3 separate regions of the Homo sapiens genome follow, and regions 1 and 3 are each linked to region 2. The links are contacts of gene promoters, found by promoter capture Hi-C in blood cells and fetal thymus (Javierre and others, 2016). All regions are on one chromosome and are shown on one strand. Each heading gives the region's core, a stretch centred on a gene start or on the middle of the fragment in contact. The rest is flanking DNA. Distances are from core to core; before and after follow the strand shown. Region 1 has its middle 180 kb from the start of POLR2M. Region 2 holds the start of ALDH1A2 (aldehyde dehydrogenase 1 family member A2). Region 3 has its middle 81 kb from the start of AQP9.

What was found. Contacts are between HindIII fragments. The CHiCAGO score rates a contact against its expected background, and 5 or more counts as called.
Region 1: a fragment that was not itself captured here is called in contact with the fragment with the promoter of ALDH1A2 in region 2 in 1 of 17 cell types (endothelial precursors); the score reaches 6.8 in endothelial precursors.
Region 3: a fragment that was not itself captured here is called in contact with the fragment with the promoter of ALDH1A2 in region 2 in 2 of 17 cell types (M2 macrophages and M0 macrophages); the score reaches 6.1 in M2 macrophages.

The regions. Positions count from the first base shown.
Region 1 is chr15:57,881,246-57,883,945 of GRCh38, reverse strand. No RefSeq gene overlaps it. Among named protein-coding and RNA genes, the nearest start is that of POLR2M, 180 kb to the right of the region's middle. The HindIII fragment of the contact is 364 bases long and covers 1,229-1,592 here.
Region 2 is chr15:58,064,394-58,067,093 of GRCh38, reverse strand. It overlaps ALDH1A2 (aldehyde dehydrogenase 1 family member A2), which reads left to right and starts at 1,383. Exons shown (of 13, transcript NM_003888.4): 1 at 1,383-1,560. The coding sequence starts at 1,444. It overlaps ALDH1A2-AS1 (ALDH1A2 antisense RNA 1), which reads right to left and starts at 1,869. Exons shown (of 3, transcript NR_147215.1): 1 at 1,352-1,869; 2 at 160-279. RefSeq lists a silencer at 528-717 and enhancers at 1,326-1,845, 1,846-2,365. The HindIII fragment of the contact is 8,256 bases long and covers 157-2,700 here.
Region 3 is chr15:58,217,607-58,220,349 of GRCh38, reverse strand. No RefSeq gene overlaps it. Among named protein-coding and RNA genes, the nearest start is that of AQP9, 81 kb to the right of the region's middle. The HindIII fragment of the contact is 1,626 bases long and covers 539-2,164 here.

The DNA of each region.
Region 1 (2,700 bases), core at 161-2,660, 180 kb after region 2:
TTGTGCAGATGTAAGGGAAAACCAGAGAGAAAATTACTGTAAAAAATATCTTTGTTAAGTAGCAAAACCAGCAGCTGGACCAGATTAGCTGTTCCCTTCTCTTTCCTATTTTTGGACTTGGAAAGAAAATGTGCAAAATAATTCCCCTTTTGGAGAAAAGTAGAGAAGAAAGTTGGGGGGTAGGTTGTGGGGAGATGAGGCTGTGGACCAGGACAGAGAAGCTGATGAGGGGCTTCATGGCTGGGGGCTCCACTCTTCCCCTGGAGACTGGGGACATCAACACTGCTCTCTCTTCCTCCCCAGAGAATGTTGCGGACTGGGTCTCTGCTCAGTGGCCAAGCAAAGCCTTAGGGACAAGTGCCAAACCTGTGATTCTCACAGGGCGACAGCTGAGGCCAGGCACAGACCAGACAGCAGAAGGAGCTTAACCTGCAGGCCATAGCTGAGGTGCTGGCGGGCAAGAGCAACCCTCCAGCCCACCTGCCATTCCAGTCTCCTTTCCCTGCCAGCAAGTGTGCACTGTTCTGCTCTGATCCTGACTGTTGTCAAAATCTCTCAGAAAAAGCTCCAAGGGAATTCACTCCTGCATGGTGTTAATGACTGCAAAGAAGGAGCATGGGCTTACCTGACATGCAGGTATCTCTAATGGCCACATGGCATATGTCATGTGGCAAACGTGAAAAGCATTTTGGAGGTTATAAAGCCTCAGAACTCCCACACTTCTGGTGGGAATGTAAATTGGTATATACACTGGAAAGCTGTCGGCAGTATTTACTAAAACTCGATGTATGCACACCCTATGATGCAGCAATTCCACTCCTAGGTATATGACTAAGAGAAATAAGTGTGTATATACTCACCAATTACCCACAGCAGAGTGTTCATAATGGCTCCAAATCAAAAACCACCCAAATCCCCATCAGTAGTAGACTGGACACATAATCACTACTATATTCACATAACAAGAATGTATCACCTACAGATACCAGCAGCAATGTGGCTGAATCTCACATATGCAAGTGAGCCAAGGAAGCCAGACCAAAACAAAGATCAAGGGTCTCACTCCATTTCTATAAAGTACAGAATGAGTGAAGCCAGGGAATCCCTGAAGCTGGAATGAGGGTCCACCTTGCAAGGGGATCTTGACTGGGAGAAAGCACAGGGACTTGTTGGGGAGCTGCTTGCAATCTTGGTGCTAGATACAAAGGTGTGTAGAGTTTGTAAAGCTTCAAAGGGCTGTTCTCTTATATGTGCACTTTTTGAATATTTGTTATATTTCAACTGAAAAAGTCTGAATGTCACCAAACACGCCTACACTTTTACCATACGAATAGCTGGGCTTCAACTGGGCCCTAGGTAGAAAGTTGCTCTCTACTGAGCTGAAACTCAGCCCCTGGTTCTACCCTCTGCAGGCCACAGATATGTGGGTCCCTTTTGTACCACATCCCCTCATGCTCGTTTCTGGGCTGCGCATACCCCATTCTCAATTCCCCTCGAAGGCACACAGTCTTTGTTCTAGAACTGCCAGATGTAGAGATGACTCCCCTCTGTAAGAGAGGTCTCAAATGGACTCTTGTCAGCTGATTGAAGCTTTTGTTTGTTTTTATTTTCCTTCATTTCTCATTTGAGACGCTGCTTCAACTTCCAGCCCTCTGCCAAAGGTGGGGATGCTTTGACCAGCCAAGAAGAAATGGACTTCAGTACTATCTCAATTCCTTTGCGTAAAGAGAAGCCCTGGAGGGGCTGGCCCACAACCCACAGCCAATCTCCAAAGGAGGGCCTGGAAACTAATTCATGGGGGAGGAGTTCTGACCACTTTCAGTACTTCCTCTGGGGCAGGCGCTGTCTTACCTCATTGAAACCATTAATGGGCCAGTGCCTCTTCAGTTTCCCATAGATTCAAGGAAGCAAAATTCCTGGACCAGAAGCATCTTTTCACAGGAATGTTATGAACATGGAACAGGGAAAGGGTGCACAGAGCTTAGTGTGACTGCCCTGAGGACTGGGACGGCAGCCGTACTTGGTTAAGCCCATTTGTTTCCCAGAAAAGGGAAAAATAACTATTTCCCTGGGAAGTGTCAGAGAGGTCTTTGTCTCTTGTAATGGTTTCCATGCTCACCATCTTAGGTGCCTTCTTCTGCTAATCTGAATGATTGGATTTCTGAAGTAATAAGAAAAAGTGAGTTCTCATGGCCCATTCTGTGTTAGGCTCAGCCACAAAGTCACTTAAAACATATTTATGCTAACATGGACTTAAAAAAAAAAAAAGACAAACCAGTCTATTTATATAGAAGTCTAGTTAGCAAGAAGAATGAAAACACAGCTATGGCATGTCAATAAAAACACATTTTCCTAGCCAGTTAGGGCAAGGCCTCTCAGTAGAAATTCCACTTTGCTGACTCTTGATTAAAGATTTTGCTTTATAACCACACTGACTGTTTAGACGGAACCAGCTATGTAAGTTGCAGTGCGCAATGCACACTGAAAATGTGGGACTTTTTTTTCCAAATATTGTTATGATCACAAGACAGTGACAGCAAGACACCAAGCTGGGGGACTGTGTGTCTGTACAGATTGTATGCCGTCCGTGTAGCTGGCTCTGGGTTCAGGAAGCCTGTGAGAAAGTTCCTTTAAGATTGGGAAGAAGTCAAGCATGTTGATAATAATTGAGGGCCTGGCCAATGTATAAAAAGGGAAAAA
Region 2 (2,700 bases), core at 134-2,633:
TCAAGATCACAGTGAGCTGTCACGGTGCCACTGCATTCCAGCCTGAGTGAAGGAGTGAGACCCTGTCTCTTCAAACAAAACAAAAAGACGAGAATCACAGTGTTGCTTGGTAGTGTAGAAAAAGCGTTTATCAACACTGTAGGCCCCTGTCAAGCTTACATTTGGAGTGAGGAGTAAGGAAGGGAAGGGACTTATGCAGGTCTTTCCATGCGGCCTTGATTTAGTCCACGGAGTCCAAAGCCCATTCTGAGGCAGGGTCTCTAGGTTCTTGGTTTACACCTGCAGGCCGATCCACAGACTAGAGGGCAGCTTGTTAGACTTTGGAAACACTTAGATTAGGGGGGAGATGGAAACTCAATCCCAAAGGGACAGTAAAATGAGCCTAAGGTCTGGCGGGACGATAGCTCTTAGCGTGTAAGGAACAACAGAAAAACAAAATAGTGTTTCTGTGGGTGTGCTGGGTGAGGAGGGGAAACAGCCGGAAGAGGGGATCCGAGAAGAACTAAAGGAGCCCACGAAGCATGCAGCTCCTCGGAGGAGCCGGGGATGATCACTGCCCATATCCTCCCGCCACAGCGCAAGCCGCCCGGGCGGTCCCGGCCGGCAGAGGGCAGCAACTGGGCGGGCGACGCCTGGCAAGGGCCGCCCCGCGCTGACCCGCTCGCAGGGATCCTCATTCTGAGCCCGAGGCGAGGGGGACTCGCACCCACTGCCACCTCTCCCTGACCCTCTGGCCACCATGCACCTCGGCCCGGCTGAGGGGAGTCGGGGGGTCGGGGGAGAGGGCGTAGCTGCCGAGAGCCTGGCGCCCCTGCCCGGAGGAGGAGAACGGAGGACGCCCTCCCGGGTCTCCGGAAAGGAAGGGGGACGGGGTTCGGTGGGTCCTGGGACGGGGATGGGAGGGAACGTGGGCGAGCTGGGAGCCGCCCTCCGCAGCCTGGACTTTCCTGGCCTTTCTCTACTCCGAAGCAGCACCGGGCCGCTCCGGTCCCCGCCAGCCCCTGCCAGCTCCGCTTCCGGGGGCCACGACCCTCGCTCGACTTCGGCCGCTGTGCGCCTCCCGCCGACTCTGACCCAGGGACCCGGAGACCAAGTCCGGCTGGCCGAGGCCCGCGGGCCGCGGCGCAAGTTCCGCTCCCACCGTCGAGGACTGTGGAGGCGGCGTGGGCTGGTCTCCGCGGCCGGGGGGCGGGAGCGCCGGGCGGACTTGACCGTGGGCGCCAAGCGTCCCGGCCGCGCGGCGCGGGCTTTATGTAAATGGAGGCTGCGCCGGGCGTCCTAGGTAGGATGGACCAGCCCCCCGCGCCTCGGCCCTCACGTCCAATAAGAAGAGCCCCAGCTTGACACCTGCCTATATACAGGCGAGCGCGCCCCCGGGCCGCGGACCGCGCGCACAGCCCGCACTGCCCCACGCCGCGGGCTAGGGACACCCGGCCCGCCACCATGACTTCCAGCAAGATAGAGATGCCCGGCGAGGTGAAGGCCGACCCCGCCGCCCTCATGGCGTCGCTGCACCTCCTGCCGTCGCCCACGCCCAATCTCGAAATTAAGTACACCAAGGTAAGCGGCCGCCCAGCGCCCGTCGTCCACGGAGACTTTCTAGAACCTTCTTCGGTTTCCCCGATCTCTTCAGCGGGTGAGGGCTGCGGGACGGGGCCGGGGTCGTCGGGGCCAGCCTGTCATCCCGGCGCAGCAGAGGGACCCCCTGCCTGTCTTCGGGACTGGGGCGTTTGAAGCCCCGCCGTGGTCTGAGGACGCCTTGGGGACTTAACCCAACCCGAAGCGCAGCGTTGAGGGGCAGCCGTCAACGGCTCCTGCCCCGGACTCTGAGGCTGGTTTCTGTCCGATTCTCCCGGTCCCGACTGCCGCGGGGGAAGGCGTCGGAACCGCTTAGTATCCTCAGATGGAGGCCGGGGTTCCCCGTCAGCTTGGCCACGCAGCCTGGCCGTCGCCTCTCGGTCCTCCGCCTTCCGGGCCCCTCGGCTGTTGGTCCCAATCAGGTCCTCCACAGCCCGGAGGGTGCTGAGGGGCTTTCCCGTAAGGAATTGTCAAGACACCAGCGCTCTGGCCGGTTTGACAAATTTCACGGAAACCTGACTGATAAGTACAGTAACTCCAACGTCAGCGTTTCATGTGAATTTTGTAGGCAGCGGCAGTTTCCCTGGGAAACTTAAAAAGTTTTAATATTTGTTAGCATGTTCGGTTTTGAACTGAAGAACTTACTTTTTTTTTTTTATAACGAACGTTGACATCTTGGGTTTGCTAAGCAGGATTTTTGTTGTTGCATCGCCTAAAAAAGAATATGCGTCTGCTACCTAATATAAAATGAATTTACTTTCCACAAATTCGACATAGAAAAAAAATGATCGATTACAAACGTAGGGGTATTGTAATGTTACAACATTTTGAGGGAGGTGGTGAGAGAGAGATGGGATTGAAAACCACGTTTCTTGGAGTTCATTTTGTAGTTCTCTGGTTTGATTTTCTAGTCCTTTCGGTACATTTCTACACTCAACTTCTCCCAATTAACGCAAACGCATAGACGCACATGCATATGGTTAAAGGTTGATTAAAGATGTATTCCATCGTGCTTTTTTACAAGATAAATTTTGTAGAGAAGTAAATTGTTTGCATCTGGCTTAGTGGTTGAATGAGATATACAAGAAACAACATCAGAATATTGAGATTTTACTTGCATTG
Region 3 (2,743 bases), core at 102-2,601, 150 kb before region 2:
GATGCCCACTCTCACCACTCCTATCCAACATAGTACTGAAAGTGCTAGCCAAAGCAATCAGGCAAGAGAAAGAAAGAAAGGAAACACATCCAAATAGGAAAAGAAGTCAAACTATCTCTTTTTGTAGATGACAGGATTCTGTACCTAGAAAACCCCAAAGACTCTGCCAAAAGGCTGCTGGAACTGATAAATGGCTTCAGTAAAGTTTCAGGATGCAAAGTCAATGTAAAAAAATTATTAGCATTTCTACACATCAATAACATTCAAGTTGAGGGCCAAATCAAGAATGCAATCTCATTTGTAATAGCCACAGAAAAACAAAATACCTATGAACACATCTAACCAAGGAGGCAAAAGATCTCTATAAGGAGAACTACAAAACAAATCATAGATGACACAAACACATAGAAAAACATTCCATGGTCATGTATCAGAAGAATCAGTATCATTAAAATGGCCATACTGCCCAAAGCTATCTGCAGATTCAGTGCTATTCCCAACAAGCTATCAATGTCATTTTTCACACAACTAGGAAGCTTTTCTAAAATTCATATGGAACGAAAAAGAGCCTGAATAGCCAAAGCAATCCTACGCAAAAGGAATAAAGCTGGAGGCATCACATTATCCACCTTCAAACTATACTATAGGGCTACAATAACCAAAACAGCATGGTACTGGTACAAAAACAGACAATAAGCCAATGGAACAGAATAAAAAAACCCAGCAATAAAGCTGCACACCTACAGCCCTCCGATCTTCAACAAAATTGACAAAAATAAGCAGTGGGGAGAAGACTTCCTATTCAATAAATGGTGCTGGGATACCTGGCTAGCCATACGCAGAAGAATGAAACTGGATCCCTATTTTTTTTATCATATACAAAAATTAACTTAAGATGGATTAAAGATTTAAAGGTAAGACCTCAAACTATAAGAATCCTAGAAGAAAACCTAGGAAACACCATTCTGCACATGGGCCTTAGGAAAGAATTTATGACTAAGTCCTCAAAAGCAATTGCAACAAAAACAAAAATTGACAAGTGGGATATAATTAAAGAAAGAAACTATCGACAGAGTAAACAAACAGCCTACAGAATGGGAGAAAAATTTGCAAACTATGCATTTGGCAAAAGTCTAATATCTAGAATCTACAAGGAATTTACACAATTAAACAAGCAAAAAAACAAATAATCCCATTAAAAATAGGCAAAAGACATAAACAGACACTTCTCAAAAGTAAACATGTAAGCGGCCAACAAACATATGAAAAAATACTCCGTATTACAAATCATCAGAGAAATGCAAATCAAAGTCACAGATATTATCTCATACCATGCAGAATGGCTATTATTAAAAGTCAAAAACAACAAATGTTGGGAAGGCTGTGGGGAGAAGGGAACACTTATACACTGTTGATGGGAATGTAAATTAATTCAGCCACCATGGAAAGTGGTTTGGAGATTTCTCAAAGAACTTAGAACTATTATTTAACCCAACAATCTAATTACTGATTATATATCCAAAAGAAAACTAATCATTCTACCGAAAAGACACATGTACTCATGTGTTCCTCATAGCACTATTCACAGTATCCAAGAAATGGAATCAAGCTAGGTGCCCAGTGGTGGACTAGACAAAGAAAATGTGGTACATATATGCCATGAAATACTATGCAGCTATAACAAAATAATGAAATCATGTCTTTTGCGATATTATAGATGCAGCTGGAGGGCATTATCCTAAGCAAATTAACACAGGAGCAGAAAGCCAGATACTGCATATTTCCCATTTATAAGTGGGAGCTAAACACTGGATACTTGTGCACATAAAGATGGCAACAATATAAACTGGGGAGTACTAGAGGAGGCAGGGAGGGGAGAAGGGTTGAAAAATGAACTGTTGGATATTATGCTCAGTACTTGGGTGACAGGATCATTCATACCCCAAACCTTAGGATCACACAACATACCCAGGTAACAAACCTGCATATGTATCCGCTGAATCTAAAATAAAAGCTGAAAATAATAATAATGATGATAAATAAAAATTAAATAACCACACAGAAAAAATAATTGATTCAAATACATTTTGATATCAGGACTCTGGCTGACTATCCCTCAGTGGAATATATTCTAAGAAGAAGACTTTCAAAGGCAGCTAAAGCTTTATGTGGTATATTTATTGGTTTTTAGGAATGGTAGTATTTAATTTTAAACTGTTATATGACTATTATAATGATAAAGCAAATAGTAGGCGTAGTAACATTATTGGGAATCAAGACTTTACTGTAATGGAAAATAAAATTTGAAAATACAGTAAGTTGGCCTGGTGTGGTGGCTCACGCCTACTGGGAGGCCGAGGCGGGTGGATCATGAGGTCAGGAGTTTGAGACCAGCCTGGCCAATATGATGAAACCCGGTCTCTACTAAAAAATGCAAAAATTAGCTGGTTGTGGTGGCATGGACCTGTAGTCCCAGCTACTTGGGAGACTGAGGCAGGATAATTGCTTGAACCCAGGAGGCGGAAGTTGCAGTGAGCTGAGATTGCACTGAGCGAGACTCTGTCTCAAAAAAAAAAAAAAAGATAAAAAAAGTTTTACATTAAATTTGAATATATGAGTCTTGAGCACATATATTTCCTTGCTTTGCCCACTTGAATGGCCTAACAAGTAGTGACACCTAGCTGCAATGAACGTACTTACTGTCTAGATCTTGTTGTAAATACTACTCTCCATTGCAAAGGAA